Regions from separate parts of the Homo sapiens genome. Here region 2 is linked to region 1. The links are contacts of gene promoters, found by promoter capture Hi-C in human tissues and cell types (Jung and others, 2019). All regions are on one chromosome and are shown on one strand. Each heading gives the region's core, a stretch centred on a gene start or on the middle of the fragment in contact. The rest is flanking DNA. Distances are from core to core; before and after follow the strand shown.

Region 1 (7,778 bases), core at 1,326-3,825:
CTGTTTTCTCATCCTTAACATGGGAATGATAGTTATAATACCTACTTCACAGTGCCAGTGTAAGGATTAAGTGTATACTACTTAGAATAGCAGACCTCGGTTCATTCAAAGCCAGTTGTGAGACTGTCAACAAGTCATTTAGCATCGCTGCATTTGAGTTTCTTTATCCATAAAATGTCTACTTAATAATTAGAGCTACAATTTACAGAATGCTTATTGTATGTAACGGGGCCTTGAAGTACTTATTTGTCCCATTTTACTGATGAGGAAACCGAGGCTGAGGAATTAACTAACTTGTTCAAAAGTGACAGAGTTGGTTGGGGTGGAGTCAGCATTAGGGCAAAAATCCATCTGATTCCAATTCCTTGTTTTCCCTATACATGCTCTTTTAGGCTCCCAGTCTCAACTATGGGTCTACGAACTTCAGAAAACAGCCCTTTTCAGTTAGTTTCAGCTGCCAGTAGGCGGCTCCAAAAAATATTAAAAAAAAAAAAAAAACCCGCAAGTTTGATGATCTAACTTCTAAATCTGTGTACAGTTGTGGCTCCTTCACAGTTTCAGGAAATCAGGTGGCTAAACGTACCGTCATTGAAAAGCAGCTTCAGAATTATCCTTCTTTTTATCCCACCCTCTTCCACTACTTTAAAAACGTGCAGATTCTAGTAATTTAAAATGGGTTTTGAACTGGAGAAAAACCAAGCCAAGAAAGTTATCTCTGCTTGTTCCACTTATATGAAGACTAGATTCAAGTAATTTAAAATGGATTTTGAACTGCAGAAAAAACCAAGCCAAAAAAGTTGTCTTTGCTTGTTCCACTTATGTGAAGACTGTTCAACTAGTGTGCAAGGGAGGTTATTCCCCCAGGGATCCACCCCTGTCTGCCCCTAAGGCTGAAAGACAGTGGACAAAGACAAGAGTAAGTGGTAATTCATAGCCTGATAATCTTGAATTTTGAAAGCAGACATCAGAGGAAGCAATGGCAGGAAAGAACAAAAGATAGGATGAGAAAACAAGACCTTGGTCACAGAAATTAGTAAGGTCCTGGTTCCAGGCAGGGGCCTTTTAAAATTATGCTGCCAGTTCAGAATTACACTGATTGCGACTTAAAAGCTTCCCAGTGCTTTTCACATCTGCAAATGAAAATGTATTTCAATTACCAGGCTGGTGATTTCAGTATCGTGGGGGAACTCATTATGACTTCTGTTCAGTGACCCCAAGGGTCACATTGTTCCCCCTTTTCCCAAAACTATTGTGCATTGAGAAAAGGCTTTTTTAGCAATAGATGCCCAAGTCCTTGGGAGTCACAGTTGTAAAGAGGCTCTTCCTTAATCCACTCTGTATTGGAATTAACCTACTGAGCAGATATAATCAGAAAATACAAGCAAAACAGACTCTCCAGGTAAAATTCAGCTGCCACTTTGAAATACAAACACCATTTCCTTTTATTAATTGGCTGTGTGGCCTTGAGCAACTTAATCTCTCTGTGCCTCGGGTTTCCTATGTGTAAGATAGCCGGGCCTATTTCATATAAGGTTATTATGAGAATCAACTGGGGCGATAAAGCAAAGCCCCCAGCATAGTATATGGCACATACTCAGCGCTCAGTAAGCGTGAGCGATCCAAAGGATCTAAATGTTAAGGGCCAAGGAGAGCGCTCTTTCCACAGGTGCAAAGTCAGGTAGCGAAGACTGAGTTCAAGCCAGGTCAAGCAAGGGACAGGCCGCGGACAGGCGGGGGCCGGTGGCCGGGTCACGGAGCAGGTTCCCCATAGCCGCAGGGCCTCCGGAACTCGGAGGGCAGGCGCAGGGGACGGGATCGCAGGGCGGGGACAGAGCGCCGGGCCACAAGCCCAAGCGCCGCTGTCTTCGGAGATGCGTCCCGGGGGTGGCCGCGGGAGCCCCGACGCCGAGTCCCGAAGGGGCGGCCCCATCCAACGGCCGAGAGCAGGCGGAGGAGGAGGAGTGGAGGGGAGTGAGGAGGGGTGAGAGGAGGAGGTCCCGCCGCGGCCAAGAAAACAAGCCACGCTCGGGGGAGGAGGCAGAGACCAAACTCCCAACCGCCGCCCAGCGCCGGGGCCAGGCCGGGCCCTTGTCCGCGCCGCCGCCGCCTCTGTCAGCCTCTGTCCGCGCCCTGGGCCCCGGGGGCCGCCGAGGACCGACCCACTGGGTGGGCGGCCGGGCCCGGCGGCGGCGAGGGGAGGCAGCGAGGGGGCTCGGTGAACGCGCAACCGGCGCCCCGAAGGCAGGGCGCGCGGCCGGCCCCGCCGGGCTCAGGAGCGGGCAGCGCTGCGGCCCCAACCGGCAGCGAGGCGGCCCTGGACGGACGCCCGCCCGCCCCCCCCCGGCACTTACGTGGGCCCGGGCCGTGCGGGGCTGCGCGGGGAAGGGAGCGGCCGCCGGCTCGGCGGGGAAGGACGCGGGCGGGGCGGGACTGCTGAGGTAGCTGCGGTGGGGCCGGGCTGCGCTGCACCTCGTTCAGGTACCCAGACGGCAGGCGCGGGGCCGGCTCCAGCCCTCGGGTCGCTGCGCCCAGGCCGGCCAGTCCAAGTCCTTTTGTTGTTGTGCAGCGCTCGCAACAGCTGATCGGCCGCTCCGCTCGCCGTCGGGCCCCGCTGCCCCGCCCCGGGCCGCGCCAGGCCGGGCCCCACCAATCGGCGGTGCGGGGGCCCCGGGGCCGCCCTGCGAGAGGTTGTCACCAACGCACGTGACCTGGCGCCCGGCCGGCGGCGCGCTCAGCTCCGAAACAAGCCCGGGCAACAAAAACCGGGAGCTGAGCGTGAAGGCCTGGGCGAGCGGAAGGGTGGGAGAGAGGGGCTAGGCCGGGGAGGGAAGCGCTGGGGCCGGGGCCGGCTTTCCAGGAGCCGGCGGGAGCGGGGTGCGTAAGAGGCGGGCGAGGAAGAACCGGCGGGCAACGGGAAGGGCAGAGGTGGATCTCTCCCTCAGCGACCCCTCTCGCCGAGTGAAGGGTCGAGGGTTTGGGGCACAAAGGGCGCAGAACGTTTTTTCCTGTGAGAGGAACATTAAGACTCCTGGGAGGGCTGGGGCTAACGCCTCCGAGAGCCCCACCTGGTCAGCCTAGGGTTAGACGTGTAGCCAGGGTGCTGGGAGGGGGCCGCTGCTGGGCCCCAGATAGAGGGGTAGAGGCCGCTCAATCACGGAGCCAGGCCCCACCTGCTGTAGAAACCGCCACCGAGAGCCGGCCGGGCTTGCTGCACGCTCTGGATTCCGCCTGCCTATAGGCGAGGCACAAGGGACTGCGAGACCAGGCCTGAAGGCAGAGAGGTCAGCAGGCTCGGGGGCCTCTGCTCCAGCGGACAACAAGCGCACCGGGCGGGAACGGCCGCCTCCCCAGGCGCTGCAGCCTAGCTCTCATGTGACCCACGGAACTTAGCCCCTCTGTTCTGTTTGCATACCTGCAAATTGTGGGCATTCACGCCGGGACTGCCAACTCACCAGGTTATTTATAGTGACAAGAGAGTGAGACAGTGGGCTTGAAAGTGTTTTCCAGACCAAGGCTCTGTCCCACATATAGGTGGATTAACTGTCTGGCAAAGGCAGGTGAGTAACGTTGATGCCTATCAGCTCTCATGTGGATACTGTTTGGACTGGGATGTAGTTCTTTGACCTGGGGTGAGCTGTATAGCAACCCTGGAGGGATGCCTATCACACATTACAGTATCTGAAAGACACTCACATTCTGACCCTCACAATGTAGTCAGTCCATTTCCAACAATGCTGGTTTTAAAGGATGTAAATTGCAGTGCAGGGAGTTGTCAGACACCAAGGAGTAATGATCAAAATATGATGGTCATTGGACCTTATCTTGGGAGAAAGAGCTAAAACTGTGTTCTAGATAGTCTCACAGACTTGAACATGCTTTGGATTTTAGGTTTTTGCAAATCAGGCTTGTTCTAATATTTTCTCCCACATGCTATGGTAGGAGCCCCATGATCTCTTGTTTCTCCCTAGGAATCCATTGAAGAGGCCATCTCCACATTCAGAACCAAGGTATGATGACAATTACAAGGGGCTAATTTTTAAAAAGAAAAAGGCCTACCTTTTTCCAGTTTGATAAGGTTTATCATGGTTAAAGCAACATGTGAAATCATCATCTTGTTATGATAGAAAAATTCAATATGAAGTAGATCATTTTTCCAAAGATGACCACAACAGTATCTCCATCATGAAGTGGGTGTATTTTTCTTCCCTTTGAATCTGGGCTGACCCTGTGATTGCTCTGACCAATAGAATGTGGCAGAAAGAATGTTCTAGGACTTCCAAGCCTCGTCATTAAGCAAAAGCATTAAGCAAACCCCACAGCTTCTGCTTTGTACTCTGGAAAATGCCAGCCACCCATGAGGAGAGACCACCCTGCTAGCCACAGGGAGAGGCTATGTGAAAAGAAAGAGATGCCTGGCCAGCTCTAGCTCTTCAGCTCATCCCAGCTGAGCTACCAGACACATGAGTGGAAAAGCCCTTAGGAAGTTCCAGCTCCAGCAGACACCATACTGAACAGAGGAGAGATAAGCCATCCCCACGGAGCACTGCCAAAATGACGGCATTGTGAACAAATAAATGATCATTGTTTTAAGGCACTAAATGTTGGGGTAGTTTTTAAAGCAGCGATAACCAAAACACAAAGCTAACAGAAATGCCCATCACAGATCAGTGACTCTAAACTCTACCAAATAGTGTTTGTGATGAAAACATCTTGTCTCAGGAGTCACTTGCTTTCTGTTTACTCTCTTGCTGATTTATAATCTTCCCACCTGGTGCTTGTTTATTCCCAGTGGTGCACCAAGGAGGGCGTGCCTCAGGGCAGCATAGGTGAAGTCTGTCCCTAGGAGGGAGGAGTACTTTACCACGACATTGTTTGGAACTGTTGGAGCATAATAATAAAAAGCAAACTGACTTTTAGTCAATTTTATTTTAAAATTCTTTGCAGACACACAAATTTACTGTGTACTGCCTGTATCTGGGGTGGATCACTCCCACTGCCTCCCTTCCTGGTATGCCACTGGTTTACATAAATGCATGCAGTGAAACTCAGGAGTAATGTCATCTCCATAGCGTAGAGCTGTCTGAACACAACCAAACTGTCAAATTACACAAATGCAAGCAAGCTTTTCATCTGTTCACTGACAAAGACCCAGCCAGGTTCCCTGCCTGGGCAGATCCAGTGAATCCAACCATCCTTTAATTCACAGAATAATTCTTAGCGTGTTGCTATAGTACCCACTTCCAGGCTGACCCCCTGCTGTGGGGGTGACCCTTTCCCCATCTGTCAGAGTTCTCCTGTCTGTTTTCCATGGAGCTCAATACGCTCCCTTATCTACCCTAACAAAAGGGATTCAACCTCAAGTTTTGTTTGGAAGACTCACAGTGCAGGACCACATTCACACCAACAAACAGATACAATGCAACTAATGCCTCTGCCTCCTGCTTATGAAAGCAGGCTGTGGCCATAACCCTGCCAGTTGCATCGAGGCTGCTAAAGAATGTTGTTTCCTACCAACCCATAGGATGGCTACTTGGGGCAGCCTCAGAACACAAAGCAACAAGTTGTTCTGTCTGTACTGAGGAGAATGGCAAAGTGAAGTCCACTTAGGTCGTTTTCTATCTACCCATCAACAGTTAGGATCTGCTGGGCTTCTACCATGGACACAGCATGTTGCCAAGTGTCTGGGAAAGACAAGAATTTTTTTAAATTGCATTTTAGATAAACAATCACTTAGCATTCCAGTGACATCTATTGTCTTAAGGGAAGAAAGGATCTGACTGGGTCTCCAGAAAGCCTGGAACAAAGAAGCAAGAGATTCTGTGATTTCTGCTTTCTGAAATAAAAACAGAAAACAGGCGTTTAACTGGGCTGCCAGTTACCATCTCAGAAAGGAGTCAAGAATTATTCCAGGGCCATAAGTGTAATAGCTTTTCAAGACCCTGCAACCTTTGTGACTTTTGTATGTTTGTCTTTTTGTTTAACCCTATTTCCACGTGGTGATTAGAAATAAAATCCTTAAAATAAAAAGGGTCTGTGTGCTGGCTGAGGCAGCAGAAAGGAAAAAGGAGGCGGGCCCCCTTCATTCAGTAACCAGTGCTAGGGGGGAGTCCCCAAGAGGTGGGATAGCCTGCGCTGGATTGTAACTAATGATCGCTTCAGGCCTAGAGTATTTTCTCTAGTTTCTGGAAAGTACTTTCAAGGCTTCTTAGTTTCTGGCTGAATGTACAGGTAACCCAATTATTTATGTTAAAACTTAGAGCAGAGGCTGGGCACGGTGGCTTACGCCTGTAATCCCAGCACTTTGGGAGGCCGAGGCAGGTGGATCACCTGAGGTCGGGAGTTCAAGACCAGCCTGACCAACATGGAGAAACCCCGTCTCTACTAAAAATACAAAATTAGCTGGTCATGGTGGTGCATTCCTGTAATCCCAGCTACTCGGGAAGCTGAGGCAGGAGAATCGCTTGAACCGGGGAGGCGGAGGTTGCATGAGCCGAGATCGCACCATTGCACTCCAGCCTGGGCAACAAGACGGAAACTCCATCTCAAGAAAAAAAAAAACAAAAAAAAAACCTTTGAGCAGAAAGCAAGGTCATCCCTTACTGGATATGGTCTAGAGACATGATACAGAATGGCCCTTCATACACCACCCTAGCTCCAAGGAGCCATGAAGCTTGAAGAGGCGCACTGTGTGGGGCAGATGTGACTCGTTCTTGGGGCGGTTGTCAGAGATTAGTTGAAGTGTGTGAGCAAAGGGCTTTTGTAACTCCCGCTGCCAAAGCGACTTCTTCACTCACACTGATACTTCTGGGCACTGCCCAACAGTCCGCATATGCCAGAGGCAACCTGAGGTGGGTCTGTAATCATGAATTGCTTTGTTAGGGTGACAGCATGAGTGCAAGTGCCTTTCTGCTCTTCTCAAAAGGATGCAGATGATATGGTTACTACTTACATAAGCCACACACTGCCTAAATAATCTACCTATTTAAGGAAAACTCGTTTATTGGATTCTTTTTTTTTTCTTTTTGCATGAATGAACTACCTTAAATATCCATTTCATTTTGCAAGATGAATTTATGCTTTTAAATGTCCATGTTTCTCATGGCTTTGGCAAAGCCAGGCCTAAACGTTTTGATCATCCAAGGCAAGGTTTTTTATTTCTATAGTATCCTTTCGGGGCCTCTTTTCCTGCTTTATTCCTCTTTGATAGGAGTAGGCATTTATTTCTCTTAAATATCCATTACATTTTGCAAGATGAATTTTTTTGTTTTGTTTTTTGTTTGAGATGGAATCTCGCTTCGTCGCCAGGCTGGAGTGCAGTGGCGTGATCTCCACTCATTACAACCTCCGCCCCCCGGGTTCAAGAGATTCTCCTGCCTCAGCCTCCCAAGTAGCTGGGACTACAGGCGTGTGCCACCAAGCCCAGCTAATTTTCGTGTTTTTAGTAGAGACAGGGTTTCACCATGTTGGCCAGGATGGTCTTGATCTCTTGACCTCATGATCCGCCCGCCTCAGCCTCCCAAAGTGCTGGGATTACAGGCATGAACCACCACACCTGACCTATTTAACAGTTATTTAATGAGCACTTACTCTATGCCAGGCACCAGGGATACAGCAGTGAACAAAACAGAAAAGTCTTGGCCCTCAAGAACCTTCCATCTAGTAGAGGAGATACAATAAACAAGTAAATATATAATTTAGTGGGTGCTGTGAAGAAAGATAAGCTGGGTAAAGGGTTAGAGAGAAGTTGGTGGGGAGGTAGTGTGGTCAGGAGGGCCTCT
Region 2 (7,778 bases), core at 2,188-4,687, 750 kb after region 1:
TTTTCCTCAAGCTCATGGATGCCCAGGTTTAAACTCCTGCTCTAGTGCTGGTCTTCTGTGTTCCTCATTAGCAACCACACATCACTTCTTGCCTTCTAGAATATCAAATAATCTGGAATGTCTCCTTCACCATGGTATTGCTATTTGAAAAAGACAAGAAAGGGTTGAACAATTTTGAGAGTCTTCCATGTGCTGAAAGCTTTCAAACATTTTCCCATTTAATTCAATCTGCACAAATATTCAAAGTGAAATGGCCTCCTTTACTATATAGGTGAGGAAGCTGAGCCTCAGAAGACTCAGGAAGCTCATTCAAGGCTGCAGCTGATGAGCATCAGAACCAAGGTTTGAACCCAGAGCCCTATGCAGCCATACTTCCTCCTTAAGTTTATCTTATTTTCTTAGGAGTATTAGTCAGTGGCCTAAAATCAGGGACTATGCAAGAGTTCTTAGAGACTTACTTCCAAGCTAACACAGTAAGGCTTACAGCATGGCGGTTAAGCTTACAGGCTCTGGAGACAGACTTCCTGAGTTTCAGCCCCAACTCTGCCATAACTTTTAAACTTTGGGCAGGTTACTTAACCTCTGTGTCTCAGTTTCCTCACCAGGTTATCGTGAAGGTTGCATGAGCTAATTCGAGTAAATGTTAGCTAGTATAATATTATTTGCAAGTCATGTGGAAACCATCTCATTACTTGACAGCCATGCCTTATGTTTCCTTATGCCCTCTTGTCTTTAATCTTGTCCCATCCATTCATTCTTCATAATAAATCCAGACTTTTATTTCCAGTCGAATTGTGTCATTTCCCTGCTTACAATGGTACAATAGCTTCCCATTGCCTTCAGGAGAAAGTCTAAACTCAGACTGGTGACTTTAAAGGCCCATCAAGATCTGGCTTGACCTTGATTTTCCATTCACTTCATTTCCAATCTTCTTCTTTATATTTCAAACATACTGAATTATTTGAATTTCCTGAGTGTCTCATGCCCTCTGTAGCAAACACTGCAGAATGTTTAGTAATTTTCCCGTTCTTCCTTGTTAAAGAATCCTAAATGTATTTACTGGTTCTGCGGCATAAATATCTTCAGAGAAGGCTGGGCCTCTTCCTAGTTATTGGGGGTAAACCTTAATTATACTCAACTCATTACCTTTTCAAAATAGCTGATTTAAGCACATCAGTGATATTAATTATGTGACACTAATTTGACAGATTTTTACTCTGACAATTAGTGTCACCACTGACTGAGAGGAAGTTTGTTGAAGGTTTTTGGGATCAAAGACAGGAATGATTCCTATCATTACCTCTGGAATTTGATGAGTAAAGATATGATGTCTAGAGCTGCTAGGGCCAACTTACGATCATGAGTGGAACTGATCACTGTTGAGAGTGGCAGAATGGGAAGATAAAATAATATCTTGTGGAACTATTAAATTACTCTACCTTTCCTCCAGGTGTGTTGTAATGTGAGATAATTAGTGACCTTATTGTTTGAAGCATACTAACTTGGTTTTCTGTCTCTTGCTTCTGAAAGCCTGATATGTTTCCTCACCTATTGTCCTTTGAACTTATATTTTCTTTGCCTACCCACTTACTCTTTACCCAGTCAACTTCTACCTAGGTGGGTACCAAATTTTTCACCCTCCCTTACTACTGGTGGTGGCTATATGATACAGCCTGATCAGTCAAACAAAATCCAAATTTAGCTCAGAGGTTTTGGATAGCTGTTGTGTTCCTGAAAAACAAAAAACCCAAACACAGCTGACTGTCATGTTCCTTCCTTCTACCTATTTGTTGACTAGAATGTGGAAATATTATTTAGAGCTGCAGCTATCTGGTGACCTTGAGATGAGATGTACTAAGAAAAGGCCAGGATAATTTCAAAGACATCAACACTGACATCACTGAGCTGCTGAAACAATATCAGTAACTACCTAACTCCAGAGTTCTTATTAGGTGAGCAAGAGAAACCCTTATTTCTTTAAGCCTCTATAGTCAGGTTTTCTGTTACCCACAGCCAGATGGATTCCTTACAGATACAAAGATACTCAGTAAATATTTATTGAGTACTGGATTAAACATATTGCAACAGTTTGCTCACTAATAAAGAATAGTCTTTCAAGAAATTTCTGACTTCGAGTATAATAAAATAGGTTGCGGTAGGTCAATTTTTCTATTGTAACAATGGAAAAAAGGTAACTTACAAGAATTATGTTTTAAAGACATTGCAGGGCTGTGAAAACTGTGAAGAACAGATGAACTAAAATTCGAGAGAGTGGAGGACTACTCAGTTGAGATGACCATCGCAAGCCATTTTATTATTTAAAAACTTGTTGGATGTTTAGCAACAGATGGGTCACGGCAGATGAAAGGAATTAGTGGCCTAGAAGTCATGTTAATAAAAATACACTCAAACCTAAGCACAGGGAGAAAAAAAGGATAAAAAAAATGCGTGAGAGAGAAGTGAGAACTACTTAAATATGTGTATAAATGGCTTCTAGAATAAAGGGAGAGAGAATGTCAGAGATAATAACTAAGCATTTTCCAAAATTGAAGAAAGACATTAATCCACAGATTCAAGAAGCTTAGCATGCCCCAAGCTGTATAAACACATAGATAACTACATGTAGGCACATAGTTATCAAACTTTTAAATTAAATGTATGATCAGGATTTTAGAGGCATTGGGAAAAGAGAAAAGAAAAACAAATTCAAAGAAACAGAAATGACTTACATCTGATTTGTCAAAGGAAATTAGAGAAGCCAGAAGAAAATGGAGTATTGTCTCTGTAGGCCCAAATGGTGGAGGGGGAGGGGAAGTGAAAATATTCTTCAAAGATGAAGGCAAAATAAAAATATTTTCAGAAAAGCAGCAACCCAAAATATTAATTGCCAGTAGGTCTTTACTGTAGGAAATACTCAAGGGACTTCTTCAGGCAAAAGAAAATGACCCCAGAAGGATAACTCAAAAGGCAGGAGTGAAAAAAAAAAAAAAAGAAGAATACCAGAAAAGATATGTATGTGAGTAAATAAGCAAATATTATATATAAATATATATGTGGGTATGCAAGTATATATTGGCTGTAGAAAACAGTTATAATGATGTCTTTTGAAGTTTCAAATACATTTACAACTAATATATATAAAATAACGAATAAAAGAGAAAGGCATCAACTGAGTTTAAAAGGTCTAAAAGTATTTGGGAAGTGGGAAAGTTAGAAATCTGTATTAGATTCTAATAAGTCACATCATAAATTCTAGGGTAACTATTAAAAGAAAACAAGAGTGTGTATAACTAACAAATTAGAGAAGGGGAAATAGAATATAGAATAATAAATGTTTAGTTAACCTATAAGGAGACAAAAAAACAAAAACTAAAGTAACATAAAATAGATGACCAAAAATGGAGGAAAAAAGCTAGCAAGATGGTAGGTACAAGCCCTACAATATCTGTAATTACATTAAATGTAAGTGGACTAAATAAGCAAAAGAATAAGATTGTCAAACTGGATAAAAAGTAAAACTTCACAATATGCTGTTAATAAGAGATGTACTTTAAATACAAAGATCAGAAAATTTAAGAATAAAAGGATGAAAACACATAATGTAAGAACTAACTGAATAAAATTTTGGGTAGCTATACTTATATTGGAATATTTGGACTTTAAAGGGACAAACTTCATTGGGGATAATCAGGGACATTTCATAATGATAAGGAAATCATTATAAAATGAGGTAATCACACTTTTAAATCTGTGTGTACCCCATTGCATAATTTCAACACACATAAAACAAAAAAATGACAGAAATGAAAGGATCCATGGAAAAATCCATAGTCATAGGGAGACTGTGATGAATTAAGGTACAAATTGTAAACCTAATAGTAAGGATTAGCAAATTTTTCTATCAAGAGCCAGATAGCAAATATTTTTGTTTTTGCAGGCAATATGATCACTGTCACACCACTCAGGTCTACTGTTGTGGTACAAAAGCACCTATTGACGATAAATAAATAAATGGGTGTAGTGGTATTCCAATAAAAGTTTACTTATAAAAACAGCACACACATACACAACACACGCACACAGTTAATAAACCAACAACAGAGATCATAAAGTAGTAGAAATCAGAAAGAGCACTCAATTCATCCAAAAGAAGGCACAAAAAACACGTGACCAAACAACAACAAAAAACCAAAAAACCTCATACAACTAGCTTATCACTAATGAAAGTGATATTTTGAGCTCCATTTTCATGTTTCCTGTGTCTACCTCTCAATTATTTTAGATACCAGGTGGAGAAAAATGAAGTATTGTTTATTGACTTCCTAAAGCACCAAAGTTTATGAATCTCAAATTGAATTCAGCCCCTTTACTTTCACATGCCCACCCTCCCCCAAACACACACACAAGCACACACACAAATCCTACTCACAGAAGTATTTTCATGTACAGAAAAGTTTGCTGAAAGTTTAGGGAAATAAAGAGAAGGTTTTACATTATAGCCACATGTGAACTTCAGATTACATATTAGACATGCTTCTTCTTAAACGTCCTTTGGCAGTGTTCTTCTCCCAGCTAGGGTAGAATAGATCATGGGGGACAGTAATCTCATTGAGAAGAACTAGAACTAGTAAGTAAAATAATTTTATATGTGAAGGGTTAGCAAACTATGGCCCACAGGCCCATTCTAGCCATGCCTATTTTTTGTGTGCCTGATGGCTGTTTGGTGTTTTGCACGCAGTTGAGCCATTGTGACAGAGGCTGTTATAGCCTTCAAAGCCAAAAAAAAAAATTTACTCTCTGGCCTTGACGGGAAAGTTTGCTGATTCTAGATATTTAAAGGCAGAGAAGATCAGAAGTGTTGAAGACTAAAAGGTATATACTTTCAGAGAGGGAAGAAATATTCAGAGAAAAGTTGAGGAAATACAGCTGGTCCTGGGGGCATTTGTTGATTCTTGGTGAAGGTGAGTGTGGGGATCCAGGTTTGGCTTGGGTAGAGAATCCCGGATGGAGGACAAATAAATCAGCAGAGATTTTGGTGGTCACATGGGACAGAAGCAACAATATTGGCAAGCTGAGGAGCATCTTGCCCTGGATTCCAGAGGTGGGTGCAGCATAAGGCTAAAGACTAAGCTAAAGCCTTGCAAAGCAAAACTTCCCATTGCATGGGAGACAAAGCCCCACGGAGGGAGGAAACCTGCTAACATCTGGTGAGAATCTGAAGCCCTAGATTAATAATCAGTTAGCATTGGTGAGCCACAACTCTTTTACCCTAAGACAACTTGCTTATCAGAGACATCATGAATGGAGAATCCATGCTAGGACCTTAGTGAAGGCTTATTGTTAGAGGACAGAGAAAAAAGTCCTCTAACAGTTAGTACATCCTTTGGTGGGGGTAAATGACTAGAAGGGGACAAAACGGGTTACGTGTTGATAATGTTTCTATTTCATAGTCTGAGTGTCTTCATTGTGTAAAAATTCATTGACTGTACAATTTGGATTTGTGCACTTTAGGGTATGTTATATTTCAATTAAATTTTCCCAAAAAATAATTCCTTAGACTAACCATCCTTACTTTTCCTCTATCCACAATTTCTATGAGTTTCCAAGATAAAACAGTTTAGTTACATCTTTTGGCTACTTGACTCCCACTAACCCACACCTTCAAAATCTTACCTTATACCACAAGACACTTACTGATTTAATTTCCTAAATGCAGTTTCTTTTTAAAAAATAATTGTGGATTGTGATTAAAATAATTTATTTTCACCCCTCTTTAGAAGTAATGGCCATATTGTATTATGTGTGGGTCAGATTAGCAGAATATCACAATTTAAGAAGAACATGGAGAAATTGGAACATGCCCAGAGGAGGGCAAATAGCAAGATAAAAGTATATGGGAATTATGTTGCATGTGAAACATTTTTAGCTAATGGGGATTTTCTAACTGAAACATAACAGATTAGATTCAGAGGGGTAGTACAATCAATGCTTTCAAACCCATAATATATTTTGTAAAAGAATAATTCATTTTATTCTAAGTATTTTGATGTCAGAGTAGGGATAAATGGTTGGCCATTACATGGTAGTTTCCCTTGAATGTTCCATTATCATTTATTAAAAAAGGTTATGTTATTCATTCACTAATTGAACAGAAATTTACTGCATGATGAATACATGATAATTTCTGCTGCCAAGGAGGTCATAGTCGCGTATGGAAGACAGGTCTAAATGATTATATAAGAAGGTAAAGATTCACATAATCACATCAAGAGGTGACATTGGAGCTCAGAAGAGAGTGAGATGGGTGAAGAGAAGGAAGTGAAGAGGTGAGTTCAAAAGCAGAACTCAAGGGTCTTCTCACCCCCAAACCTGCTCTCCATTCTATTTACTGTATAGAAAGGAACAACCTCGCCATCCACTCAGTTACTCAAGGTGGTAGCCTGAGAGCCTACCATGATCTCACCCTCTCCTGCACCCTCACATCTAAACCCAGCAGCCTCTCATTTCTATGGATCCTAGCACAAAACATTTCTAAAAGATATGTTTTCATTCCTGTTACCACTGCTATGTTTAGAACCCTGTGTCCCGTACCTGAATAGTTATGTGACATCCTAACTGTTCTCCTGCCTTCAGCCTTGGCCCCCTCAAATCTGAGCTCACACGGACCGTAGGGTTACTTTTCTAAAATAAAAATCAGGTCATATAAATGTCCTGCTTCAAGTCCTTCATAGACTCTTAGAGGTTAGAAAACCCCTCACTCTGTGGCATAGGATGTGAGGCCCTTCCCTCTTTTACTCTTGCCCATCCATTCAGCTCATCTCAGACCAGCTACACATTTTTACATGCCCCACATTCTAATAACACTGACCCATTGTAGTGACTCTGCACTCTACTCAGTCTCACACATCCACATCTGTATTCTCTATTTCCCTTTATCCAAAAGCCCCCTCCTCAGCTCGCCCACCTGAGAAGGCTTCTCCCCTCCATGCCTTAGCTTTAACCTCAATCCTGTAAGTCCTTCTGGGCCCCTGCCCTTGGAAGAGAGACAGCATCTTTATTTGTGCATTCACTTTTTTTCTGCAGATCTCTAAAATAATTTCCAGCTTCACCTCTCTTCTCACCAGGCTTTGAGCTCCTGAGAAGCATGAACAAGGATGTGTAACATCGTGGTTAAGAATGTAACTTCTAGTCAGGTGGCCTGGATTTGAATTCTGGCTCTATTTTCTCTTAGCTGTGTATCTTTGGTTTGTTTATGGCTTTGAGCCTCAGTTTCTTTGTCTGCACAACAACCAGATGAAGAATCACCTGTAAAGTGCTTAGAGCAGAGCCTGACACATAGTAATTCCATAGTAAAAGTGATCTATTATTACTATTGTAACTACTATTATCTCTGCATGGGGAGTGTGTTACCAAGAAGATAGTATATAGGAGGTCCTTAATAAATATTTAATGCATGTTTTCCAACTTTACACTTTGCAAGAAAACTATGTTAGAACACATGCATGCACGCACACACATACAGCCCTGGGGACTAGAAGATGAGAAATTTACCTGTCATATATATTTCTTCTATCATAGCAATCTGTTTCTAGTTCTCAAAGGGGAAGGTTGTCCTCATAGCCCAGTCTCTCAGTCCTATAATCTTACTGCTGCAGCATTTTAGGAGGAATTCAGTACTTTAAATCAAAGAGGTAGCTATAGAGCTACCTTGGTGACATTTATCCATAAAGCAATAACAGGTGGGAAGAAACTTGGAGATGAAAATCTGAACCCACAGC

The links. Contacts are between HindIII fragments. The study calls those that stand out against the background at their distance.
Region 2: a fragment that was not itself captured here is called in contact with the fragment with the promoter of TP53INP1 in region 1 in 1 of the 25 tissues and cell types used here (lymphoblastoid cells).

Annotation. Positions count from the first base shown.
Region 1 is chr8:94,946,803-94,954,580 of GRCh38, forward strand. It overlaps TP53INP1 (tumor protein p53 inducible nuclear protein 1), which reads right to left and starts at 2,576. Exons shown (of 4, transcript NM_033285.4): 1 at 2,352-2,576. It also overlaps a transcript of NDUFAF6 not described here. RefSeq lists enhancers at 1,917-2,545, 2,546-3,175, 3,042-3,211, 3,382-3,431 and silencers at 1,992-2,131, 2,352-2,731, 2,812-2,921. The HindIII fragment of the contact is 13,226 bases long and covers 1-5,896 here.
Region 2 is chr8:95,694,368-95,702,145 of GRCh38, forward strand. The region is part of intron 3 of CFAP418-AS1 (CFAP418 antisense RNA 1); the gene reads left to right. Among named protein-coding and RNA genes, the nearest start is that of TRS-AGA2-5, 430 kb to the left of the region's middle. The HindIII fragment of the contact is 3,797 bases long and covers 1,540-5,336 here.